Regions from separate parts of the Homo sapiens genome. Here all the other regions are linked to region 4. The links are contacts of gene promoters, found by promoter capture Hi-C in human tissues and cell types (Jung and others, 2019). All regions are on one chromosome and are shown on one strand. The core of a region is centred on a gene start or on the middle of the fragment in contact, and the rest is flanking DNA. Distances in the headings are between cores, read along the strand shown. Region 1 overlaps LMCD1-AS1 (LMCD1 antisense RNA 1). Region 2 overlaps LMCD1-AS1 (LMCD1 antisense RNA 1). Region 3 overlaps LMCD1 (LIM and cysteine rich domains 1). Region 4 holds the start of LMCD1 (LIM and cysteine rich domains 1).

Region 1 (3,108 bases), core at 104-2,603, 57 kb before region 4:
GCACCAAAGCAGTTTTCCATGTCCTCATTCCCTCATTCATGCATTCATTCAAATATTTACCAGGAGCCACAAACGTGACCAAAACATGCCCTTGCCTTTACAACTGCTCCCTGTGGTAGAGGAGACCTCTAAGCGAATAATCAGAATACAACACACTTAGTGTTATATCTGAGATACACACAAGGTGCTACTGGACAGATAAAACAGGGAAGGAAAAAGAAGACGTTAAACATGGGTTTAAAAGATGAATAGAAGTTCAAGTACAGAAGGGCAGCCAGGCAACAGGAATGAGAAGTGCAAGAGCACAGCATGGAGCAAAAGGGCAGGAGAAGGTCACAGGATGGCAAAAGTTTTCATGCATGTGAGGGACTGGGAAACTTGTAGGGTTTGGGAAGGTGGAGCAGGAAGAGGCAGGAAGGGTAGGCAGGGGCTAGATACAGAGCCACAGGCCCCTGAGCACTTGCGATGTGCTGGTCTGAACTGAGATGTGCTGTGGGTGTAAAATACACACCGATTTTGAAGACTCAGTGGGAGCAAATAAAGTAAAATACCTCATTAATATTTTTACATTGTTTGGCTGTTGAAATGATAATATTTGGGTTATACTGAGCTAAATAAAATATATTATTAAAATTAACTTCACTCATTTGTTTTGACTTTGTTAGTGTGGCTGCTAGAAAATTTAAGATGACATATATGGCTTACAATCACCTCCACTGGGCAGTGCTGGGCTCATTCAAGCATGAGAACATCGGATTCCATCATAGGGGTCTTGGGGCTCATCTGGTAGCAACAGGGAGTCACCAGAAATTCCAGAGCAAAGGAGCAATTCAGTCCGCTGAAGGTTTAGGAACACCTTCAGTGGCTTCAGGTTGGTGGGGTAAAGCAGTGGTCGGGGAAGGCACTCTGGGGGACATTAAGCTTCCTAAGTCAGGAATGTTTAGGTCTGAATAAAGCAGAGAAGGAAAATGTGGGAGAGCTATTTAAGAGAAGAGAAAATAATTGACAAATCAAAATCAGATTATTACACTACAAAACCATCACAGGATTCAATTACAGTCCTTTGTGGGGAAATGCCTCCTCCTCCATCCCCCCCACGTCCCCAACTCCCACCAGATCACATAGTGTAACCTTCCTGGCTGATGTAACACACAAAGCTGAAAAGATAGTTTTCAGGACACAGGAAAAGCAAGTGGCAATGCTTAAGAGAAGAACTTACTCCTCTTTCCTTGTTAAGGATCCAGGAGGCAAACCTAACCCCGCTGGGCCCCAGACAGCAATTCCTAACAGTGTGCTCTTTTATACCTTCCTTCAAGGCTGCTGACAGGAAAGGCCGTTGCCAAGGAAACAGGCTGAGCCAGGAAGCTGACTGGAGCAAACACAGACAGTCTCACGGCCGCTCTGTGGACAGAGCGGACCAGTTGGTAAATATTTCACCAGGCACATACCAGAGACGCAAAGCAAACAGTATGTCATCCCAGCGCTGGGCTGGAATCGTTCCACGAGGAAATGTTGAACTCAGAAGCTGTGCAGCTTCGTTCCCATGTTACAAAGGATGACCTCCCAATATGACAGGGCTTACAGTGGGGCATTGGGACACTTTGCTAGAGTGGGATTATAGCACTCTATATGTGCGAGTTCCACATCTGCGGATTCAACCAAATGAAAAATATTCTCCAAAAAATGTACAAATAATACGAATTGTAAAGTACATTAAATAAATAAAATATAAACTAACTACGTAGCATTTACATTGTATTAGGTATTATAAGTAATCTAAAGTACATAGGTTACAGGCAAATATGCTATTTTACATAAAGGACTTGAGCAGGAGCAGTTTTTGGTATCCGCAATGGCCCTGGAACCAATCCCCTTTGACTGTACTGAGCATCTCCCAGCACAGAGGCTATCAGTGCTGGTGGCAAAAGAGATGTCAAGGTACTCTGGAGAAAAGTAGAAAATCAGTGGGCAAGCTACTTCTCCTTCATGGCAGCCTCAATTTTGCTTACCTTTAAAATGGGTATAATCTTTTAAAGATTATGTAATAGGATGAGCATTCAATGGAATAAAATAGTTTAATAAATAAGATAAATGTGTAGTCGCCTCAATAAATGTTAGTTTCACTTTCCGCTCCAGTGTGTAACATCTAGAATTAAAGATATTCTGTGTACAGTTTGAATGCCAACTATTTAGATACAACACTTCTATTAAGTAAGCCTAAGTCTGTCTTAGCTTCCTCAGTATATAACACTGAATACAACCACAGAGGGATTCTTTTTGCTTTGTATCTTTTACGTGAATGGCAGGTAAGTCACATCTCCTGGATTTTTTACTGATGTAATTGATGATCTGGGCTCAAGTCCTGAACATGCAAACCATTCCAGTGAATTCCATTTTATTAGATTGAAGCCATAGCTCTAGCCTAGCAAGATCACTTGAAAGCTGTCCTCTGTCCTCAGGGAGCTTCATGTCTGGGGCAGTGGTTTTTAAAACGTGGTCTCTTGACCTCAGAATTAACTGAGGTGATTGGTTAAAAAGGTGAGTTTTCAGTCTTCATCTTAGACCTATTGAATCAGAACATCTGGAGGCAGGTCCCAGAAACTTGCAATTTTAGCAAACTTTCCAGTTTACACTCATGCACAATAAAGTTTGAAAAATCAATTTTCTTCATTATTTCTGCATTTTAGAAATTGGTCCTTGGACCACCTGCATTTGATGCCTGTTGAAATGCAGGTTTCTGAACATCATCCACATGTAAGGAATCATAGTCTCTGGACTCAAGAACCTGCCTGTGTAACAAACTCTCCAGTTGATTCTTACTCACACTAAAAGCTGAGAACCAATGGCCTAGTGAATCGTAAAGAAATACTCCTCAAACTTGGCATTGGTGTGCATAGGAAGTGCCTGGAGAGCTTGTTAAAGCAGAGATCGCTGAGCCCACCTCCAGAAAATCTGACTCACTAGGTTTGGGGAGGGATCCAAGAACTTATATTTCTAACAAGCTCCCAGCTGATGGAAATGCTGCTGATCCACAGATCACACTATGGGCAGTTGTGGTGTTAAACTCATAATAGTCTATATAGTTTTAAAAATACACCCATATCTAAA
Region 2 (3,091 bases), core at 255-2,754, 40 kb before region 4:
GTCGAGTTCTAGTCTGTGCACTTTGCCCTTCTAACCAATGTTTATTAATATGAGGAATCAAGAGGTTACTAGGAGCAATCGCTCAAAACTGGCAGGAAACTAACATTTGGTTGGTATCTGTGTCTCTCTCTGGAATGGGTGCGTCTTCACGTTCCCTTCTCATGCTGAGGTTTGTTTTCCCCACATGTTGTTCAGAAAACACAAGACTTAATGCCCTAGCTTTTTGCTGCCTAAAACGGACAACCCTTCCCTTCTTCAGCCTCAGGGACTGTGTCAACTTTAAGGTCATGACCACAGGGCCACAGGGGAGCCAATCATGATAACAAAATATTATTTGCCTCCCTGGTTTCTGGTGCATTCAACAGGAGCCCTCAGCTCCGAGTCCCAAGACTCTACAAATTCCTGTTCCAACCCAAAACTTCACCACTCTCTAGGGCACTAATCATTTTATCAGAAACCTACGGTGGCTCCAGCATCTCATTCCAAGTTCTGACTATGCTTTATTTTTTTCCCAATATTATGAATGTTTAAAAACATGTTTTTATTGGAAAGATCTGTATGTCCTCATTAATCTTTTGGATCTCACTGGAGCCCCTTAACATGCCCCTTAAAATATCCATTAAAAAGTCAACCACAACTGTTTAAATAATTTTAATGCATACATTTAAAAAGAGGGCAATGAGATATGCACATCATTTAAAGATGGTGGTGGACGTTGGAAAGGGAAGTCGGTGATGGGCATGAGGTCACAGACTCGCCATTAGGGATCATTCTTCATTCAGCAAATTGTCATTTACTTGGAATATCTCCCTCATTCCATGGATTTTAGGCATACTTTCTTTTCAGTGGGAAAATGGAAGGAATAGATCATTGGGACCTTTCATTTTTCTCATTCCTATCATCTAAACACAAAGAAAGTGCCCTGTTTAGAAAATGCTGCTAAGTTGTGGCAGCCCAGGGATATTTCAAGCTTGCATTCTGGCCATTTCTCTCTGTTTTATATGGCTTCCTGCTCTCACATCCAATGAAAATAGCTCTTTCCATGGCAACACCACATAGAGATATCATGGCAAGACTGTGTTGTGGTTGCTATTTTTTTAAGCAATACTATTTATCTTGAAACTGCACCAATTTCTCCCCCTTTTTCTCTCATTCCACAATCACACCAGTGTTGGCAGTTCCTCTTGAGGGCATGTGAGGACACTTAGTCACCTTTACCAAAGGACTGTAGTTCTACTTCTTTAGTCCACCATACAACATTAGTTCTGTATGCTTGTCAAGTTTTTAACTTTGGGTGCTCAAGTTGAAGTTCTTGGTTTGATGTTCAAAGCCATTCACAATAGTCTTGACTGCTTCCATATTTTCATATACTAACACTGCCTGTATTATAACAATACTGAGCTGTTTAGCCTGTGACTCAAAGATACCTGGACCTTGTTGGCCAGGTTACCATTGCATTACAGTCAAATTTAATGTATCACCTTATTCCAAACACACACATGCTAACACACACAAACACACAAATACATAGACACACAAATCTATTCCCTATAGCATTTGGACAATGAAGTAAAATTTTGCTGAAGGTCTATGGAGAAGACTGAGGATGGGAATTGTACTATACATCCTTAGCCAAATGTGCCTTCAAAGTGCCTTTTATAACATTTCTTCAAAGTTCCTTTCCCTTTAATAATTGTTAAATGTATCTCTACCCCCAGCCCCTTTATCTCAAAACTGCTCTCCAGTTGAAGTTAACTCTTTCTCCCCACCTCTCCTCCAGTTCAAACATCCCACTGAACAAAATGAGAGCCAGGTCACCAGCTGAGAGGTTTCAGTGAAACCAGATCATTAGGTTGGCCTAATCATTCAGCAAAGATCATTAGGTTTGCCAATCAATCAATGATGGCTTGAATGAGTCCCAGGCTGGGGAGAGATGGGCATTCATGTCCACTTCATCCCATCATGTGAAATTTACAAATGTACTAGGCAGCTCTGGCTCCGTGAGTGCACATGCTGTTCTCTCTTCCTAGAATGCCCTTCCCTCATTGCTTATCTGATGAGACCTTTCAGGTTTTAAGATCCAGCTCAAGGATCAACACTTCTGAGAAATCTTGGGGATTTCAGACATGTTTCCTCATCCAAAGAAAAATATAAAAGTCCCGAGCTGGCCACTCTGACGTAGCACTGTTCATGACCCCTGGGTGTTTTACTTATTGACCATGTCTTTGCCTCACTTCTCCTTACCTTAAAAGGAAGGTCTTCTCATCTGAATCTCCAGAACCCAGCCCAGCACTGAGTATATACATATTGTATAACCAGTAAATGTTTGTCAGATGGAATTTTATTCTTACCACACATCCAGGAGTTAGGTGAAGCAGGTGTTATATAACAGGTATTGCTAGGCAAATTCTTTTTCCTTTCTGAGACACAGGTTATATTGTACGAATGCCCTAAGCACTATACATGCATTAATTCACTCAATTCATCACAAGAACCCTATGAAGTAAATGCTATTATCATCCTCATTTTACAGATGAGAAGGTTAGATTTCCCTTTGGTAAATTTTATTGTAGTTCAAAATACTTTTCACCCATCCTGGGGTGTCCCTACCTATAAGAGGATTGTATACCCAGGCATGGCTATGTGATTAGATTTGTACTAGGAAATCTAAAAAGGGATGTGTGTCATCCCCAAAGATTTAAGAACCAGCATGTGGTTGCCCTACTTCTTTCTCCTTTACCCTCTTAGATGCCTCTACTCCATCATCATGGATGCCAGAGTAAAAATGATATGGAAAAGAGGTACAACTGATCCATGTGGCCATAGAGCACAAGAAAGAAATAAACCTTTGTTTCTGTAAGCCACTGAGCTCTGGGCGTCATTTGTTATCTCAGCATAATCTAGCCTAAGCTGACTTATGAACTCCACAAATCTGGTCTTTTTTCAGTGTCCCCAGTGTCAATGAACGGATTAACATCCATTTATTCACACAAGTGATGAATCTGGAATTCATCTCTGGTGCCTCTTCTCCCTTCTCTAAAGGAAAAAAATACATATATCCAAGCCCTGTCAATGAAGCCTCCTAAATCTC
Region 3 (3,391 bases), core at 145-2,644, 45 kb after region 4:
TATTAGAAGTTGACTTTGCATATTTTTTAATTAATAAACCATGAAATACCTTATGTCCATAATGATTTAATTATACTTTTCTAAGAAAAAGCGATTTTAGACAAGGTTGACTTTTTTTTTAATTAGGAATGTTGCCCAGGAGGTAAATGAAATAAAAATATTCAGTTTTGAGAGAAACAAAATTCATGTTGCAAAGCCAGCAAATCTAAAATGATCATCTACTTAAATTACACCATTCTGATCAAGAATGTGAATCTCTGACTATAACTTGGAGCAGAGTAAGAGCTCATTTAGGCATCTCTCAGGTATTAGCAAAATTCATATTTCTTCCTTGAGAATTCTTACATTTTGCAAAAGCCTGAAGCAGCTAGGAATCGTCCTCTGGCCTTTCCTCAGATCTCTGTCCAGTGCTCGAGAATCCCAGTTGTTTATCTCACTAATTTTTTTGTTTGCCAGTATTTTATTGAAACAGTAGTGCAAGTAAAGTCCAGGAGCCAACTTCTTGCATCAGATTTACCAGGATTCTTGTTAAAAATGCAGATTCCTGTACCCCACACCTCACCTACTGGATGGAGATCTTGACTGGGGCTTGGTGCCTGGGAATCTGCATGTTAGTAATTTTTCGCAGGGTTATTGTACACTGTGTCCATTGAGAGACACTACTTTGACATATGTAGCTGGTGAGTCTAACTGTAATCAGAGATTTGAAAAGAGAAAAGCCACAGATAGAAAAGCAAACAGGGTCAGGTGCGGTGGCTCACACCTGTAATCCCAGCATTTTGGGAGGCCGAGGTTGGTGGAGGTCAGAAGTTCAAGACCAACCTGCCAACATGGCGAAACCCCGTCTCTACTAAAAATACAAAAATTAGCCGGGTGTAATGGCTCACGCCTATAATCCCAGCCACTCCGGATTCTCCTGCTGAGGCAGGAGAATCGCTTGAAGCTGGGAGGCAGAGATTGCAGTGAGCTAAGATCAGGCCATTGCACTCCAGCCTGGGTGACAGAGCGAGACTCTGTCTCAAAAAAACAAAACAAAACAAAAAAAAAGAGAAAGTCAGTAGCATGTAGATCAGGAGTGTCCAATCTTTTGGCTCCTCTGGAAGAAGAATTGTCTTGGGCCACACATAAAATACACCATCACCTAACGATAGCTGATGAGCTTAAAAAAAATCACAGAAAAATATCATAATGTTTTAAGAATGTTTATGAATTTTTTACAAATTTCTGTTGGGCCACATTCAAAGCTGTCCTGGGCCATATGTGGCCCATGGGCTGTGGTTGGAGCAGCTTGGTAGGCGCTGTGGTTCTTTTAAGTAATCCTATAGCCACCCTAGGGTTTACGATCCTCCTTTTTACAGCTGAAGAACCTGTGCAAAGAGACGGCATGACATGGCCACAGTCACACCGCCGGCATGCCTACAACCAGGATTTCAGTTCAGGACAAGCCGATTCCAGAGCCTTTGCTCTTGCTACTATGGTAGAAGGGACATGGCCTGCCCTCAGGGATTGAACTGTCCCGCTAGAGGGTCAGCTCAAATACACTAGGAATGGTTAAGGACTAGGGAGAGACCAAAGCATACAGTGCTGCTTGTAAGAACAGGAAAGAAGAGAGAGGGCTTTTCCTTCCAGGGGCAGGGGGAGGTGTAAGTCCATGAGTGAAGGTAGAAATCAAGCCTATCAATTGTGGGGCCAGTGAGAAGAGAGCGCCGAGTGGGACACAGGTTTTGTGAGGGCAGCCAGCTGGCATAACTTTTGTCATTATACTGTTAAGAGTTTTATCAACTGGCTACCGTCTAGCAAATGATACTAAAGAAGAGGTTTAAAAGCAGCAACTTTTCTTTGGTGATAGAGGCAAACTAGTAAATGTAATTATTACCATTAATTGAAAGTCAGAGAACAGAGCAAAATGAGCTTTATTCAAATTCTGATGGAAAACCTAGCCCATGAGTAAATGTAGACTCCTTTTTCTTTCCACTGCCATCCAAAATTGAAAACTACAGTGTTCCTTGGAGAATAAGCAATAAAATAATGATTATTATTAGCAAGTAGACAGCTAGCTACTTAACCAACAGATAGAGCACACAATAGCAGATGCAAACAAGTGTCTCTTTCTCACACGCAAGATTGTTCCCTGTCCCACACCATGACATGGGCTGGCCCAGTCACAGGAGAAACAGAACCCACTGACCAAGGACTCATGTTAAATGGTACACACGCACAGAAAATAGCATTTAAATACATTAAGTACAACCCTACTTGTTATTTGTTCCAGGCAGAAAGAAGACTGGGTGCCCTTATTTAATAAATATACTATTGTCTGGAACGATAAACACAAAGTTGTTGGCAAGCTGTTACCATGAGCCAATAAGGTGTAAGTTTTTAAAATCCTTTTTAAAACAAAGGACAGTCATACACCACTTAATGCTGGGGTTTCGTTCTGAGAAATGTGTCCTCAGGTGATGTTGTCTTTGTGTGAATGTCAAAGAATGCACTTACACAGCCAGGCGCGGTGGCTCATGCCTGTAATCCCAGCACTTTGGGAGACCGAGGCGGGTGCATCACTAGGTCAGGAGATCAAGACCATCCCGGCTAACACGGTGAAACCCTGTCTGTACTAAAAATACAAAAAAATTAGCAGTGGCGGGCACCTGTAGTCCCAGCTACTCGGGAGGCTGAGGCAGGAGAATGGCGTGAACCCGGGAGGCAGAGCTTGCAGTGAGCCGAGATCACACCACCGCACTCCAGCCTGGGCAACAGAGCGAGACTCCATCTCAAAAAAAAAAGAAAAGAATGCACTTACACAAACCTAGATGGTGTAGCCTGCTACGCATCTAGGCTACGCAGTATAGCCTATTGCTCCTAGGCCACAAATTGTACAGCATGTGACTGTACTGAATACTATAGGCAATTGTAACACAATGGTCAGTCAGTATTTGTGTATATAAACATATCTAAACCTAGAAAAGGTATAGTGAAAATAGAGTATGATAATCTTATGGGACCACTATGGTATATGTGGCCCATCGTGGACTGAAATGCCGTCATGTAGCACACGATCATACAGTATGCATATGGCAAAGTGCGTGCATCTGATGTGTACAGCTTGATGAGCTTTGACACAGATACATTTCCATGGCCCTTTCACCAAGATTGAGACACAGAACACTCCCTACATACACAAGGTAGCTAAGGGATGCGTGTTTTTCCTTTACTAAAGTTTTTTCTCTCATGTGTGTTTTATTTGTCACAATGGACAGTATTGCTTTTGTAATTTTCTAAAATTACAAAAGTAATCTAACTGCATTAAGTTAAGAAAATAAAGACTGTGGGTCTTTCAGTTGCTGAGAATGCTGGAAGAGAATGCATTTTCAGTTTTAGGTAGATTCTGTCA
Region 4 (3,215 bases), core at 625-3,124:
GAGCCGAGATCGCGCCACTGCATTCCAGCCTGGGCAACAGCGCGAGACTCTGTCTCAAAAAAAAAAAAAAAAAAAAAAGAAAAGCTAAAAGTGATTTGACATGTTCCCAGTACAAAGAAATTATAAATGTTCAAGGTGATGGAAATCCTAAACACCCTGATTTGATCATTACACATTGTAAGCATATATCAAAATACCACATGTACAATCATGATGTATCAATAAAAAAAATAAAAGCCAGAACCCAACCTCTATTCATTTGCCAAATGTGTACTGTGCCTATACCACATGCTAGGTGTTTGAGGACATAGCTGGGAGCAAACAAGGCAAAAATCAATTATAGCAGAAATCTGTGAAAAAAGAAATAGGTCATCCCTCATCTTGGAAAAGATAAGCCACAAAAAGCCCTTTCCAGGAATATGTAATAAAAAGTCACAATTCAGGATCCCTGGCTGAGATTTGGGATGACTGGAGATGATGATAAGAACTAAATTGGAGGAGGCTTTCAAGAGGAAAAAGCCTCCAGCAAGAGACAGCCCCACAGTGGGAACTGCAGCCTCCCCTTCTCACCAAATCCCTCCCGAATGGTGTACTTCGGGACCACTCTTCAGTCTCTGTGCAACCGAGTTTTATTTTAGCCCACGGGACCCTGGTTTTTCTGGCAGGGGGCACTGCAAAGACGGGTTACAGGCCGAACACCTCACAACAGAGACAGCAGTATTCTCTCTAGGATAAAAAGGGCTTGTGTTTAATCCTCTGTCAGGGCAGGGGGGAAATGCCTCTGGAATCCAAGTCTGTGGAACCGGCTCAGCAGAGAGATGTGGCTTTATAGGCAAACAACGTGGCATAGAGAGAGGAACCTGGCCAATTCTGTCTTATAAGAGTAGTTATGTTATGCGTTGCAAGGACTCCACATTCCATGGATTTGTGAACTCAGATGGAATCTTGTTTGTCCAGGCCTGCATGACCCCATTTATCTAAAAATTACTAACTTCCTAGTTTATAGTTTACAATCCTGTGCCCGCCGCCTCCCTCCCCCCCCCCGCCACGCCCCCATGAGCTTTCTCTCTATTACTCTCAGTCTCTCAGGTTAAAGCCTTGCTCAGTAATTCAGCTGTGGACCAGTTATTCTGATTATTTCCTCATCTATCGTCTTACAGTCATAATAATAATAATATCTGAGATAATATGAGCATACAACAAGACAGTATGTCCACAGGAGCATCTCTAAGATCAGGACAGTGATTTCTTGCTCATGGAATAAGAAGGATTTATGTTAAAGCAAGTTATAAGAAAGCAGTTTAATACTTTACGAACGTTAAGTTTAAAAAAATCATAACTCGCTGGAATCTTTTCTCCTCTCTGGATATTGGAGAACTCGCCCAGGTTTGGGAAACGTTAGCCAGCTCCTGCAAAACACCTCCTCCCTCAGCCCTCCCCGCGCCCCCTACGACCAGGCAGAAAGGGTGGGAAGGGGAGCACAGCTCAGCATTTATTTCTGGATCCAGCTCACTAAAAATACCTCGGCTCTCCTGTTTGATCACTCTCCCTTTTGACCTGAATGGATCGCGGGAGCCGCGCCGCCCGCCCCACCTTCGGCCCGTTGCCCTTTAAAGGAAAAGGGCGTGGGGACGGATTCCTGCCGCTCGAGGGATAGAAGGGAGCTGGGTAGTCAGGGGCCGCGGCCATGCTGACGTCAGGGCAGCCGGCGCTCAGCTCCGCTCGCTGCCACAGTGCAGAGACCTCCCTGAGGGAGGGGGACAGCCTCGCGCTGGGATTGGCTGGCCTCGCGCGAGCGCCGGCGCGGAGTGGCTGGCGAGGTTTTAGAGGGAGTCCCGCTCTCCAATTAAAGCGGCCCAGCTGCGCCTGGCTGCGCACAGAGCTCCCTCCCAGGCCCGCGAACTTGGCCATTCAGCCGCCGCTGTCCCCGCTGCGCGCCCTCGCGCCTCTGCCTGAGAAGCCAGGCGCTGTTCCCCCACCCCAGAAGAGGATGGCAAAGGTGGCTAAGGACCTCAACCCAGGAGTTAAAAAGGTGAGTGGAAAGCTGTTTGTATTTACCCAGATTCTTACTTTTTCTTGTTCCCCTTCCCATCTGTTCGCGGAAACTTCCCAAAAGGTAATGAGAAGGGAACTCTTTAAATTCCAAAACTGCATGGAAAACAAATAGTTGGGAATACATGTTTGAGCTAACAGGCACACACACCCCAAACCCAATGTTGTGTAAAATATTTGCAAAGGGTCTTATGTCTTTGGTGATGCTAGTTAAAGTTTAATTAAGGTTTTACATATATATACAATATATATAAAATGTATATAAAATATATATATAAAATATATATAATATATATTATATATAATATATAAAATATATATTATATATAATATATATTATATATAAAATATATAATATATATTATATAAAATATATATAATATATATTATATATAAAATATATATAATATATAATATATATATATGAAATCTTATGGTCTGTAAAGGAAAAACCCCTAGCTTCCTCACTCCCTGTCCTCAGGTGGCTGAAGTAAGGGTTGAGAGCATGTAATATTTACTCACAGTCTCCCTTTTGCTATTATCCCAGTGTTTTGTGTGTTTCCCCCAATACACACACACACACACACACACACACACACACACACACGCACGCAGTTTCTTTAGTTGGTGATGTTGGCAGTGGCAGCAGTTCCAGCATAAGGGAACTGATTTCTGTCCCCAGGGTCTGCACGTTTCCCTTACAAGAAGGGCTGGCCCGGAGCCCAGAAGGTCATGGGTAAACTCCTGCACAGGAGCCTGCGGCTGTGCCTATAGCTCCAATACCACTTGTTGCCTACCTGAATGCAGCTGGGAGAAGGCACAGGCTGGAGACTTAGAGAACATGTGAACGGGAAGGGAACAGAGAGACAACCTAGGCTTTACAGATCGGGAAACTGAGGCCCGGGGTCACAGAGAGTTGGTTCTAACAGGCAGCTGACTGTAAGGCAAGCCCTAGGCATCCAGACTCAGTCCCTGCCACTTTTTAACTGCACATGATTCACCAGGTCACTTTTCTGAGCCTCAGTTTCCTTGTCTCTGATGTGGGGAGGATAGGCCTAACCTCCCTCATGGCAGTGGTAGCAGGGATACTGACACTGTGAGTTAATTTCCCAAAGCAGTCATTGTTAAACTCTGATTTCACAGGGTTTAGTCTTGAAGGGCAA

What was found. The method cuts DNA at HindIII sites, captures the fragments that hold promoters and counts their contacts. A contact is called where the count stands out against the background at its distance.
Region 1: a contact is called between a fragment that was not itself captured here and the fragment with the promoter of LMCD1 in region 4, in 2 of the 25 tissues and cell types used here (hippocampus and thymus).
Region 2: a fragment that was not itself captured here is called in contact with the fragment with the promoter of LMCD1 in region 4 in 1 of the 25 tissues and cell types used here (aorta).
Region 3: a fragment that was not itself captured here is called in contact with the fragment with the promoter of LMCD1 in region 4 in 1 of the 25 tissues and cell types used here (hippocampus).

What each region holds. Positions count from the first base shown.
Region 1 is chr3:8,443,142-8,446,249 of GRCh38, forward strand. All of the region lies in intron 3 of LMCD1-AS1 (LMCD1 antisense RNA 1), which reads right to left. Among named protein-coding and RNA genes, the nearest start is that of LMCD1-AS1, 57 kb to the right of the region's middle. The HindIII fragment of the contact is 7,646 bases long and covers 1-3,108 here.
Region 2 is chr3:8,460,212-8,463,302 of GRCh38, forward strand. All of the region lies in intron 3 of LMCD1-AS1 (LMCD1 antisense RNA 1), which reads right to left. Among named protein-coding and RNA genes, the nearest start is that of LMCD1-AS1, 40 kb to the right of the region's middle. The HindIII fragment of the contact is 6,278 bases long and covers 1-3,091 here.
Region 3 is chr3:8,545,113-8,548,503 of GRCh38, forward strand. All of the region lies in intron 3 of LMCD1 (LIM and cysteine rich domains 1), which reads left to right. Among named protein-coding and RNA genes, the nearest start is that of LINC00312, 25 kb to the right of the region's middle. The HindIII fragment of the contact is 8,356 bases long and covers 1-3,391 here.
Region 4 is chr3:8,499,949-8,503,163 of GRCh38, forward strand. LMCD1 (LIM and cysteine rich domains 1) reads left to right here and starts at 1,875. Exons shown (of 6, transcript NM_014583.4): 1 at 1,875-2,032. The coding sequence starts at 1,991. LMCD1-AS1 (LMCD1 antisense RNA 1) reads right to left here and starts at 1,710. Exons shown (of 4, transcript NR_033378.1): 1 at 1,523-1,710. RefSeq lists an enhancer at 1-396. The HindIII fragment of the contact is 11,258 bases long and covers 1-3,215 here.